Regions from separate parts of the Homo sapiens genome. Here region 2 is linked to region 1. Evidence: promoter capture Hi-C in 16 types of primary human blood cells and fetal thymus (Javierre and others, 2016). All regions are on one chromosome and are shown on one strand. Each heading gives the region's core, a stretch centred on a gene start or on the middle of the fragment in contact. The rest is flanking DNA. Distances are from core to core; before and after follow the strand shown.

Region 1 (6,757 bases), core at 3,785-6,284:
ATAATATGCCTCCTTCCGGATTGTTGTGAGGATTGGATGAAATAATAGAGGAATGCTATTGTGGGTGGGAGAACGCATTGTAAAAAACTCTGTTCAGATGTAAGACAGGAATCACAAGGAGAAGGGTCCTCTCTCAAAATGCTCACAGTGTAGAAAGGGATTAAGTGGAACACTGGAAATGCCTGTAAAAAGGTGTAGCCCTATGAAGGATCTAGTCTGATTTTTGGTGTAGGGAAGACATGAACATTACTAAAACCCCAGATCGAGCTGTGGCTCGTGCCAGAGTGCAATGCTGTAGTCTGAAGAGAAGTGCTCTGGGATGGGGTGGGATGGGGTGGGGGCTCTTGGAGGAGGTGCTGTTAGAGCCAGCCCTGTGATTCAAAATCTTCTGTGTGCATAAAAATAATCCGAGGTCCCATCTTAGACCTACTGAATTAGAATCTTGCGGATGGGGGTTCCAGGAATCTACATCCTTACAAGCTCCCAAGAATATTCTGATGCAGGTGTCCCAGGAAACAGGTTTTAAGATACTGAGCCAGGGCTTTGAAGGATAAGGAAGAGTTCCTTTCCTGGATTTTATTGACTTGAAGCTTGCCATCTCCAAGCCTTTCCTCTGAGGAAGAGAGCACAGCAAAGTACTGTGAGCTAGATTTGGACAAACCTGGCTTTATGTCCTAGCTCTGCCATTTTCCAGCCATTTGATTTCGGACAAGTCACCAGGCCTCTCTGTGTCTTCACTTTCTTACTCTTAAAATGGAAGGAATACTAGTTATCTGTTTCAAGATTGTTGTGAGGGTCAAGTGAGATATTATCCACTTGAAGCATTTAGTACAATGCTTGGCACATGGAAGCATTTGATAAATATTATCGGGGGTTATTGTGATTAAATGAGAAATATCACACATAAAACCCTCAGACTAGGGTCTGGCTTATAGTATGTGCTCACTAAATGTCTGTACTTGTTTTTATTATTAGAGAAAGTTGGTGTCCCATGGTGGGGGAAAGGCTTGGCCCCACATTTATGTGCCAGCACACACACGATGACCAGTCCTGCTTACCCTTTTCCCCAGTGACACATAGGCTTACTTGAACTGGGAAGTACAACGTAACCTTCTGTTGTAAGACTCCCTAGGTGACATTGAGATGTCGACATTCTCTTCTTCACCAAATTGGCTCCTCTGAATTTCTGGGGAGCCCAGTCAGGAAGCCTGAAGAATCATCCAGCAAGTCCTCCTCCTTGGGGCTGGACTTTAGCCTCCTGTGCATCCCAATAGCCCTCACTTTTAGTCTAGGCCATCTGGGTTCTTGCAGGGGCATAGTTTGAGAACTACTGACTGAGGGGTTCAAGTCCAATTTCCTGGACTTGCATTCAAGATTCTTTGCACTCTGACTCCCACACTGCATTTCCAGCTTCATCTTCTCCTGTTGGACCGTGCATAGCCTGTGATCCAGCTGCATCTGATACCCGTCTTCCCCAGTGTGTCTTGTGCCTTTATTCAGGCCACTCCTTCTGCCTGAAATGCTGTTCCCTGCCTCGGAAACTCCAGGTTCAGATGTCATTTCTTTGATGTTTCAAAACTCCCTAGGTCATCTGCTGCTGCCTTTGTGTTTTCCCTGGAGCTGTGTTATGGCCTTTAGTACATCGTCTCTTATTTATTCCCCTCCAGGCAAGACTGGAGCCATGTTTGGTTTATCTCCATAACACCAGCACCCGATATGAGCCTGGCACAGGGTAGGTGTCATAAATATTCCATGAGTTGCAGGTAATTGAATTTCCTCATGGCCTAGAACGGTCTGTGGTGCCATCTCCTTTTCCCTAGATTTGGGCTGGTCACTCCAGGCCAGGAATTTCCTTCTTCCTTCTTCTCTCAAGGATTATAGAAGTCTGTGGTCTTTTTTTTTTTTTTTTTTTTTTTTTGAGACAGAGTTTTGCTCGTTGCCCAGGCTGGAGTGCAATGGCGCGATCTTGGCTCACTGCAACCTCCGCCTCCCAGGTTCAAGCAATTCTCCTGCCTCAGCCTCCTGAGTAGCTGGGATTACAGGTGCCCGCAACTACGTCTGGCTAATTTTTGTATTTTTTTTTTTTTTAGTAGAGACAGGGTTTCACCATGTTAGTCAGGCTGGTCTCAAACTCCTGACCTCGCCTCTGCCTCCCAAAATGCTGGGATTACAGGTGTGAACCACTGTGCCCGGCTGAAGTTTGTGGTCTTTTAAAAGTAAAGCAGAAAGTCCTCTTCTCATCTGTCTACCTGTTGCTTGTGTTCTCTTTCTCCCTCCATTATAGTCTCTGCCATCTTCCCCTGCACAAAGGGCAAAGGGATGTGGAATCAGTCAGATCTGGGTTCAAATCTAGGGCCCGCCGTCTATTTACTAGCTGTGTCACCTTAGGCAAGTGTCATATGCTCTCTGAACCTCAGTTTCCACACCCGTAAAATGGGATCACTGGTAAAACTCCTATTTTGAGGCTCTCTCAAGAGCCCTCTGCAAACAGCACCCTTGGTTGTTTCTTCTGTTCACTGGTTTTCTCTCCTTGAGTTTCCTTTTCTGGGTGGGCCTCTCTGGCTCCTCTCTGCTCCAGCGTCTCTGTATCTTAGTTTCTTCCCTAAGGTTTCCCCTTGGTTTCTTCTTGCTTCTGCCTCCCTCTCCCTATTTAATTATCTGTGTCTAATTCTTGCCTGCTGTGTCTTTTGGTCCCTTTCCTAACTCAGTGTGGAGCTCATCAGCTCTCACAAGAGAGGAGACCAAGAGCCCAGGAACTCTCAACCCAGCGATACCTCCTCCAGCCCCAGGGCAGCTTCAAGGTGTGTCCATCTCAGCATGAAGCCAGCTAGGAGGGGCAGGGCACAGGGAGGGCCTACATATACCTTGAACTCCTACGCTTTGTTCAGTGTCACTGCCCAGTGGTCAGACCCATCTGCCCATGGCTTTCCCTACTTCAGCAGTCTTTATAGCTGGAGCTGTAAAAAAAAAAAAACAAAAAAAAAAAAACCCAGAGATCAGAACTTATTACTCCTTATTACTCCTCTGCTTAATTACTCCACTTCAGTGGCCTCCCATTAATTACTCTTAGGGTTGAACCTCAAGCCCCTTCCTTGCTCATAGTTTCTTGCCTGACCTACAGACCCTGCTGACTTGTCTAGCTGCACCTGGCTCCCTTCTGCCCCTGACTCACTCCATGCCAGCTGCCCGGCTTCCTTGCAGCTGCTTGTACCCACCAGCTCCTGCCTTTGCACAGGCTGTCCCCTCTGACTGCAATGTTCCTCTCCACTGATTTGCATGAGGTTGGCTCCTTCTCATACTTCAGGTCTCAGTTCAAATGTCACCATGTCACTTCTATAGCAAAGCCCTCTTGGACCACTTATCTAAAGGAGATGCCCCTTCCCTATGTTCTTTATCATTATACTCCCTCGTTTCCTTTAGCTTGCATATCTTAGATGGTAATGATATATTTATGTACATGTTTGCTGTTGGGCTCTCCTAATAGAATGTAAGATTCATGAAGGCTAGGACCATTTCCCTTTCATTCATTCCATCCAGTCAGTATTTATTGAGCATCAATTACGTGCCAGAGGCCGGGCGCGGTGGCTCACGCCTGTAATCCCTGCACATTGGGAGACTGAGGCAGGTGGATCACCTGAGGTCAGGAGTTCCAGACCAGCCTGGCCAACATGGTGAAACCCTGTCTCTACTAAAAATACGAAAATTAGCCGGGCGTGGTGGTGGGCACCTGTAATCCCAGTTACTTGGGAGGCTGAGCCAGGAGAATTGTTGGAGCCTGGGAGGCAGAGGTTGCAATGAGCCAAGACTGCGCCATTGCACTCCAGCCTGGGCAACAAGAGTGAAACTCCATCTTGAAATAAAATAAAATAAAATAAAATAATAAAAACATGCCATATACTGGGCACGGAAATACAAGATGAGTCTTTTCCCAAGGGAGCTCATTTCTAGAGGTGGAGACAGATAATGAACTCATCATATAGCCCGCACTCTATTTGAAATTGCAACAATTCCCCTTCCCTTCCCTGTCCCCCCACCACCCCCAAATTTCCTGGTGTATGAGACAGTGATAAAGGACGTACACCAGAGGGTTTGCTTTTTTGTTTTTGTTTTTTTGGTTGTTTACTGTTCTTGTCTTCCCACTGGAATGTAAGGTCCATGAGAGTAGGGAATTTTTGTCTGTTTTATATCTCTACCCTGGCCTATAGTAATTGTTGAATAAATGAATAGACCCCAATAAATATTTGTTGAATGAATAGGTGTCCAGATGGGAGGAAGGTCTCAGCCCCTATTCAATTCAAACCAAACAACTTTGATTCAAATCTCGGTGCTGTCAAATACTGTTGCATAACAGTATTTATGCAGTATAATTATTGCATACCTAATATATGATGATTAAATGAGTCCATGTGGGTTAAACACATAGAAGGTACCTGGTCTTACATAGTAATGAGCAACGAGTTTGCAGATCATAGTGCGAGGGCTCGTTCTGGGTAGAGGCCCAAATACATTTAACCTGTGTAGCCAGAAGGTAGAGTAGGACCAGTGAGGGCTAGTGAGGGAGGTAGACTTGCACGTCATGAAATGAAAAACTTTCTAAAAGCCGGCGTTTCCAAAGCCCCAACAACCGCTCTTGGCCAGGTGATGAGCGCCCTGTTCCTGGAGGTATGTAGAACACGCATTTGAAGGCGCCAAGGTACAAGGGATTCAGGCATCGGATGGGACAGAGGCCGGGTGTCCCTGGGTCACCGTCCCTGAGAGCGCTGTACGGGAGCTAGGCGTGGGCCATGAGCGTGCTCGCCTGGCAGTGTTGGTGCCCGGTCCGTGGAGACGTCCGTGGGCGTCCAGACCCAGCCGCGGGGCCTCATGGCGGGGAGGATGCGGGAGCGGGGGAGGGGCGCGCCAGGGCTAGCGGGCGGCCGGACCCGCTGCAGCACCCGCCGTGGCCAGCAGGGAGCGCCGCGAGACCGCCGAACCCGCGGCCGGGCCTGACGTCAGCGCCCCGCTTGCTCCGGCTCGCGCTCTGGACTCGGCGCCAGTCCCGCTCCGCGCCGCGCCGCTCCGCTCCGGCTCGGGCTCCGGCTCGCCTCGGGCTGGGCTCGGGCTCCGGGGGCGGCGTCCCCCGCGCCGGGCCCCGGGACGGGCGGCGACGCTCCAACCATGGCCCGTGCCCAGGCGCTCGTGCTGGCACTCACCTTCCAGCTCTGCGCGCCGGAGACCGAGACTCCGGCAGGTAAGCGCGCGGCGGCCGGACCGAGCCTGCCCCGCCGAGCCTCGGGGCCCGTGGCGTAGCTCGGAAGAAAGTGTGAGTGTTGAGTGACCGGGCGTTACGAGCGTGCTCCCTGTGTGTGTCTGAGCGTAGGATGGGCGATTGTGTGCCCGGGGTGTTGCGTGACTGCGAATGTTGTGTGTCCGTGAGTTCTGTGCGCAAGAAAAGGTGATGTGTGTCGGCGAGTATGTTGGGGGTGAATGTTGTGTGCATCGAGGCATTGGGTGTGCGCTGAGTGTCTTGTGGGTCTGCCAGTGTGTAGTGTTTGTGTGGCCAAGTGGGTTGTGTGTGCATCTGAGTTTGGTTGTGTTGCGGGAGTTGTATCTGCTAATGTGTTGCATTTGTTTGCATTTTGTATGCCTGGCCGGGAGTGCTGTTTGTTTTGTGTCTGCGAGTGGGTTGTGTGTTTGTGTTATGCCTGTGGCCAAGGGTGCTCTCTGGATCCCGCCTGAGTGTGGATCCGGGAACGCGTGTGTGGCGTGTGTGCTTTTGAGATCCGTGTACATGTGTGAAGGCGTGGGAACGGGTCCGGAACGTGTGTGTCCGTGCGCTGTGTACGTGTGGGGAGTGTCTAGGGTATGTGGTGTGTGCTGCCGGGGGCCGCGTGGGTCCGAGTGAATGCCAAGTGTGCCGGGAATGCGTGTGTGGGAGCGAGTCTGGAACGGATGTGAGTGTGTGCGAATGTGTCCGTGTGTGCTGGCTGCGCGTCCAGGAATGTTGCGAGTGTGGAGCGCGCCTGGGCCGCGGCTGCGAGTGTGCCCTGGTCCCGGGGCCGCCCGAGGGGGCGGTGGCAGGACGTGTGTGCGCGCGTGTGCGTGTGCGCGTGTGTGGCGCGCTGGGCCGGAACAAGTTGTCGCGGCGGCGCCCCCTGGGCTGCCCGGGTCGGGCAGGGCCCGAGGCTCAGGGGAGGACCGGGCCCCGCGGCCGCCGCCTCGGGCATGTCGGACTGTTTGTTGTTTCGCAAGTTCCGCGCGGCGCTGGCGGGCGGCTGATCCGAGGCGGCGCCGGGGCTGCGGGGCGCCCGGGCCAGCGGGCCCCAGCGAGGGGCCGGCGGGCGGGCAGGGGAGGGCCGGACCGGCGGGCGCTCCTGCGGTGGCCGGGCCGCGGCTGCGCCCCGGGCGGCCGGGCGGGGGCTGTCCCCGGGCTGGGCTGCGACGTCCGGGCGCGGGCAGGGCCTGGCTCGCCGCCGGGGGACGGCGCCCCCTCCCTTGGCGCGCAGGACGCGCGGGGGACGCCCGGGCCTCCCGGGACACTCCCTTGGTGGAGCCTGCAACTTTGTGCGGCCTCCCGGCCGGCCGGGACCGCCAGGTGTGTGCTTGAGTGTGAGCGTGAGTGTGAGCGTGTGGCTCCGCGCTTGTCTGCTGTGTGGTCGCGTTCTCCGGGTGTGTTTCGGAGTCTGGTGTCTTTGGTGTGCGTGCGCGTGTGTGTGTGCGCGCAGCTGAATGTATGTATACGGAGCCTGTGTTTGTGTGTCCGTGTGCTCGTCGGAGT
Region 2 (6,404 bases), core at 2,471-4,970, 450 kb after region 1:
GAACCCTCACAGGTAGGGGAGGGTCTGCTTTTGTCCACCAAGAAATCCCAGGCACAGGGGCTGGCACATAGTAGATGCTCAGTGAACGTATTCCACAAGGCTACGCTGCACGCACTCCCAGCTGCAATGGATCTGCCCCAGAAGGCTGGATTAGTGCCAGTCTTACCTCTGGGTGCCTGGGTCTTCATGGTGGCTCTTTAAGGTGGAGGGCATGCAGAATCAGTGATGAGCCCTCTTCCTACCCTTTGTGCATTTTTGTCTTCTGAGGAGGAGTGGGTCAGAGGCACTTCCTGGAGGAGAGAACAGGACCAGGACCCATTCTGGGTGTTCAGAGAAGCTCTGTGGAGCCAGATGCCTGCATGTGAACCCTGGCTCTTCCAGTCCCTAGCCGAGTAGCCTTGGACAAGATACTTGATCCTTTCTGTGCCTCAGTTTCCCCATCTATAAAATGGGGATGGTGAGAGCTCCTATGTTATAATAAATGAACTAACAGATGTAAAGCTCACAGCTCAGCACCTAGTACAGTAAGTGCTCAAATCTTTGTGTCACAGGTTCATGGTCACCTGAGAGCATTCCCCAAGGCAGGCGGGGGCAACACGAAACAACCAAGTAGGTGATCCAACTGGTTGGCATCCTTCTCTGCCCTCAGCCACCCCAGTGTTGGCATGATGGGGGTGGAGGCTGTGCACAGGCACAGCTGCCCTCAGCCACCTCAGTGTTGGCATGATGGGGGTGGAGGCTGTGCACGGGCACAGCAGCATGGCTCCTGCTTTTCCAGGCTGATCTCCCGCTGCTGCTTCTGGAAACCAACATGCCAGCAGCGGAACCATGGCTAAGTCCCTGCGATGGCACCAGGCCTCACGGAGGCCAACTGACAAGTCAACTCCATTACACTGGGCTCTTCCACGTGGAAGGCACAGCAGTCTAATCTCAGAGGAACAACCATCCATTCCTGGGAGGGGTTTGTCTTTCCTGCCTGCAGGGTCTCAGCCGGCACTCCTACCCCGGGGTTGATGGATTGTTCGATCCACTGGCACAGGATCCCACATAATAGTGTGTCAGACCAGGGGACCCACTTTACTGTAGAGTAGGTGCAGGCACAGACTCACAACGAAGGGCCCATGTTTATATCACATACCATACCACCCAGCCGCTGCCCACCTTACAGAGTGTGGGAGGGGCCTGCTGAGGGCCCAGCCAGAGCGCCAGCTTGGAGGAAATACCCTGTGAGCACAAGGTTCCATCCTTCAGGATGCAGTATATGCATCTAATCAAAGCCCTATATAAGGGTTGCTCCCCAATAAGAAGAGTACATGGACTTAAGAAAAACAGGTAGGAGCCAAAGTGGCCCCACTTACTATTCTCCTAGTGAACCACTGCCAGACTTAGTGACTCCCATCCCTGCGACTCTGGGCTCTGCAAGGCTGGACATCCTGGTCCCCAAGGGGGACCTGCATGTTCCAGGGAACACAGTAAGAGTCTCTAGCTTGTTTGCCATGGTGGCTGCCTGGGTATTTGGGCTCCTTGTACCCAGGGACTAGAAAAGCAAGAAGACGAGGTCGCAGTCTTGGTGAGGGTAATGGAGTCTGATCAGCAGGAGGTGGGGGGCTGCTGCAGTGCAGTGGGGGCAGGGAGGAATGTGTGCAGAACCTGGTGATCCCTAAGAGTTCCCTGCATGGAGAAATGAATGTGAGCAGCACCAGGGGAGTGCTGTGACAGATGAGGAGGGGCCCACTTGGATGCCCTGACAGTTTATCCTTCCTATCCCGCTCTTGTGCTCGAAAGAGTAGGGACCTACTCACTCTCTTGCACTTGAACTTTTAGCCTGTGTGAGTAGTAGACAAGGAGACGCACACCCAGAGGCACCATCAAGGAAAGGCTTGCTCCCAGCTCCGAGAGTGCAGTCCACAGAGGGCCTCCTTCTGTTAGCTCTGCTGCAGGGGCTCCCTTCCTGGGAGCACACACTCAGGGGCTGAGCAAGACAGGGTGGAAATGCCCAGCCAGTTTTGCCCTGCGCTGGGCAATTCTGACAGCTGACTCAAGCTACTTACCTTCTGGCTGTGGACCAGGCTGACTTCCTCCCCTCTGGCCCCTCCTTCCTTCCTTTCCCCTTTCTGTCCATCCCTAATAAGCATCTCCACTCATGTCCCCAACTCCATCTCAGTGTCTGCATCTCAAGAAGCCCTTGTGACCCAGGGAACCCAGTGACTTTGTATCAGTCAAACGCGAGTTGGAGTCCAATGGCCATGACTTAACTAGCTGGGTAACTTCAAGTGGTAAACATCTTACCTGTCTGTGCCTCACTTTCCTCATCTATAAAGTGGGGCTAATAAATCTCCTGGCCTTGCAGAGATGTGGAGAATGGATAGGAAAATGCTTTGTAAAGGAGAACACACACGCACACACACACACACACACACACACACAAAATTAATTAAAGTCCTCTCTGCTTGCACCTATGCCTATGGTGTAGGCTGAGATCTATAATAACGGGGGCCTGGCTGGATCTGAGATCCTTCTGGGAAAGAGGTCTGGGCAGCTTGATGCCGGTGACCAACACACCGGCATGCCCACAGTATAGCTGCCATTTCGGGACCCCACAGAAGGGAGGTGCAGGCGGTGCAGAGGGCTGGCTGGGCAGGGCAGGATGAGCTGGGGTGAGAATGGTAAGTGTGGCGGAATTAATCCCTTCTCTCCTCCTCCTTCCAGGAAGCTTCACTCCTCTGCTCAGCTGCTGCACCACATTTCGGATCAGAACATCTAGATCCATCAAAACAAGAGGTGGATGAGATATCTGCACATTCAGGGAGGGGAGGATAAAATCCAGGGGGCCTCATGAGATTGCTCTCCACGTGCGAGTGAGCAGACAGGCGGTGTATTTCCTGATTGCCCCAGGCTAGGTGAGGAGTGGCTCAGGCAGCCCAGGCTGGGCAGGGACACTAGAGACTGATGCATTAAAGAAAAATTTATCAAAAAATCAGGGAAGAAGCTAGTTTCTCTTTACCCCCTCTATTTAAGGACCCCTTGAGTGATAGTTCCCGGATCCTCCTGCGCTGGTGTTTGTCTTTCGCTGAAGGTGATGGATGTGTAAGCTGCACTAATGAGCAGGGCTTGGGCCATCAGACAGTCACAGGGCCGTCCAGCTCCATGCACCTCCCAGGCCGTGAGACAGTCACAGAGTTGTCCATCTCCACGCATCTTCCAGGTTCTGAGACAGTCACGGGGCCGTCCATCTCCACGCACCTCCCAGGTTGTGAGACAGTCACGGGGCCATCCATCTCCACGCACCTCCCAGGTTGTGAGACAGTCACGGGGCTGTCCATCTCCATGCACCTCCCAGCTGTCAGCATGGTCCACCGGGGAAATATGTGATTAATGCAGAGGATTATGTGTGTGTTGGGGTGGAGGGAGATGTAGCCCAATGGAGAGGAAAGGCATGGACCAGCTTGGGGGTGGGAGATGGGGGTCAGGGGGATCTGGACCTCAGTTAGTCAGGACAATTGAGAGAGTCTCAGTAGGCTCCCAAGAGATAGTGAATGAATTCTCCAGGGGCTGGGGGCAGTGGGTCAGTCCAAGACCCTGCCTGCCCCTCTCCTCAGCCTTAAAGGTTCACAGTAGAGAGAGGAGTCTTCCAGACCTGAGTTCAAATCTTAGCTTGGACTCAGCTTTGTGACATTGGACTTGTCAATGAACTTCTCTGTGCCTCCTTTTCTTCCATGTATGTCCATTTAGCATTAAAAGAACTAACGAATGCGTGGCAAGCCCTTTGCACAATAGTTGACACAAAGCCAGGGCTCAACCAACAGCTTTTCTGTCTCCTTATTGCTGTTGTCAGTAGGATTATCTAGCTTTTCTATAGGCATGTATTGTAGATGTTTATATACGATATATTTTGTCATTGAGATCTTACTGTATTCACCTGTCTCTCTCTTTTTTTTTTTTTTTTTTTTTGCTTACCATTCTGTTGTGAGCATTTTCTCACATCATTAAAAAGTTCCTCAAAAACGGGATGTTAATAGCTTCATAATGGTCCCTCATTGAGATGCTTCATAATTGACTTTTTCATTCTTTCTGGTTGGATAGACAGGGCATTACAGTTTCCAGCTTTTCACTGTTATTATCAGGCTGCAATAAGCATCTCTAGGACAAATTCCTGGAGGTGGAATCAGTGCATCAGAGCACTGACATTGCTGAGGCTCAAGAGCGTTCCTACTTAGTTGTCTTCCAAAAAGGTTTCCAGCACTGCATGAGAATGCCTGTCTCACCACACATTTACCAGCTCAATTGTTCCCTTTTTATTTAGTCTTCATGAATTTCTCAGGCCCCAAATTGAATTTCATCGTCTTTTGGAGGCACAGAGCTCTGGCCCATGGCTCTTGTTTCCCAGCAGGGTGATAATTAGATTATCTTCAGAGGCTTCCAGCAAACCTCATGATGAAAGGCAGGGCAGCCCTGGGCATGGAGTCAAAGAAGCTGGGTTCCCATCCCAACTCTGTGCTCTCTCACTGTGTGACCTGGGTATATTCTATCTCCCTCTCTGGGCCTTTGTTTATCAATCTACTCCAACAGCCTCCCACTTGGTCTCTCTGCCTCCAATGCATCCAATGTCTGGAACAGTGACTGGCATATAATACGTGCTCAACAAATATTTATTGAATTCTGAAATGAAAAAGTGACCTTTCTACAGGAAGAAGCTGCCACATCATTATGCTGCCTCCAACATTTGCTTAAGCTTCCTAACATTCTGTTTACTTTTTTGGTTCTCGCATGAATTTCTGTTTCTACTTAGGATATGAAAAGACACATGAGACAAAATGAGAAAAAAGGCCAGATAATCTACAGAGTCATAACTTTTCTTGAGCCCTTCAGAGAGCTGGAGTCGCAAGGCAGCCAACTGAACTGAAACCTAAAGGATGACAAGATCTTCTGAGAAAGACAGAACCACCCACTCCTGCACCTCTGGCAGAACCCTGGAGGGAGAGTGGGCTGCCATAACAGACAGCTAACACTGCAATGAATTCTTAAAGGCTGAGTGTGCAAAGGCTTTACAGCTGAGCCATCCCAGGAGCCCCCACACTTAAAAGGAGTTCACGTTCCTTCATCAGCTGCTTCCGGTAAAGCTCAGGACAAAGACGGGACAGGACAGGGATCTGAGTCAGCCACCTCTCAAGGGCACAGGGACATGAAAACCCTCCCACTTCCCAGACCCTTCTCTTATCGGAAGCAAAAGCCTCAAACCACTTCCCTGGGGCAGGAAAAACCTTCTACCCTGGAGGCTCAGACAAAGATCTGTTGTCTCTGGGGGAGGGGCTGGAGCAAAAGCCGTTTTCTGCTGGGGAAGGGGTAGGAAACCCTTCCACCTTGGTTCCTGGTTGAGACGTAGAAGTTGAGATCTTTGTTCTCAAAGAGGTCTGGAGAGATGCCTGCAGCCTCTCACTGGAGGACCAGCCGTGCTGCTCTTGCACACAATGTCACCAACGAGCTGGTCTCCGGGGGTCCTCAAGAGCCCTTCAATGGCCAAAGTAGGGGGCAGGCTGGGCTCTCAGGAGGATGTTGGGCCGTAGGAGAGGGTGGGCCAAGGGAAGGAGGCCATCAGAGAACAGCCTTGTATGGGCGGGGCCGGTCCCCATTGTGGGGAGGGCCATCCCCACTGGTGAGTGGGGCCATCCTGGAGCAACGAATTAACTATTTTAGAGGTAGAAATGGGGTCACAGAGTCCAGTCAGGTGTGAGTCCACTGGAGAGGCCCTGGACCTACTGTGAAGCTAGGGCAGGGGGCAGCTGTAATGCCAGAGACTCTGTTGCTCAGAGCTGGGAAGCTGGGGCCTAACAATGCAAAGACCCCACCCATCCCCAGCTGTGCCCACCCGGGGCCTTTGCCCTCCCAGCCCTCCTGCTGGGGCCTCCCCTCCCCCCTCCGGCGTTACAGCTCCCACGACACCAGGTGGCACCCTTGGCACAGCTGCGCCTCATCACCTGGAGCTTCCCTGTCCTGTCTCTCCTGCTGGAGCTGAGCTCCACGGGGACAGGGATGGGTCTGCTTCCGTCATCGCTGTGTCCCTGGAGAAGGGTGGGCATTCAGTGGGCACTTGGTACATTTGGTGAAGGAACAGGGCAGGACTAACTTTTACTGTGGGGGAGAGATAAAGGAGAGGAGGTATCTCTTGGCTTCCCAGTCTGGGACCCTGGTGGGGATGGCAGGACGTTTCTGGGATAGGAAACCCCAGGGAGGAGCGGGCTTGAGGGATGGATGGGGAGCTCTGAGGGCCCTGGGCCCAGCCAGCAAGAGCCAGGCTTTGGTGTTCTCCCATCTCCCTCCCCCTTGACAGCTTATGGCCACACTTTGCCCCAGTGGGTGGGATGGATGCCTCTCCCGCATCGTCATTTTCTAGCGGTAGTTTGAGA

What was found. The method cuts DNA at HindIII sites, captures the fragments that hold promoters and counts their contacts. A CHiCAGO score of 5 or more calls a contact.
Region 2: a fragment that was not itself captured here is called in contact with the fragment with the promoter of PTPRU in region 1 in 1 of 17 cell types (endothelial precursors); the score reaches 6.1 in endothelial precursors.

What each region holds. Positions count from the first base shown.
Region 1 is chr1:29,231,488-29,238,244 of GRCh38, forward strand. PTPRU (protein tyrosine phosphatase receptor type U) reads left to right here and starts at 5,035. Exons shown (of 30, transcript NM_133178.4): 1 at 5,035-5,230. The coding sequence starts at 5,158. RefSeq lists a silencer at 4,838-5,157. The HindIII fragment of the contact is 8,758 bases long and covers 589-6,757 here.
Region 2 is chr1:29,683,600-29,690,003 of GRCh38, forward strand. It overlaps LOC107984934 (a long non-coding RNA gene), which reads left to right. Exons shown (of 3, transcript XR_001737958.2): 3 at 2,710-5,698. Among named protein-coding and RNA genes, the nearest start is that of LINC01756, 340 kb to the left of the region's middle. RefSeq lists an enhancer at 5,751-6,250. The HindIII fragment of the contact is 2,019 bases long and covers 2,712-4,730 here.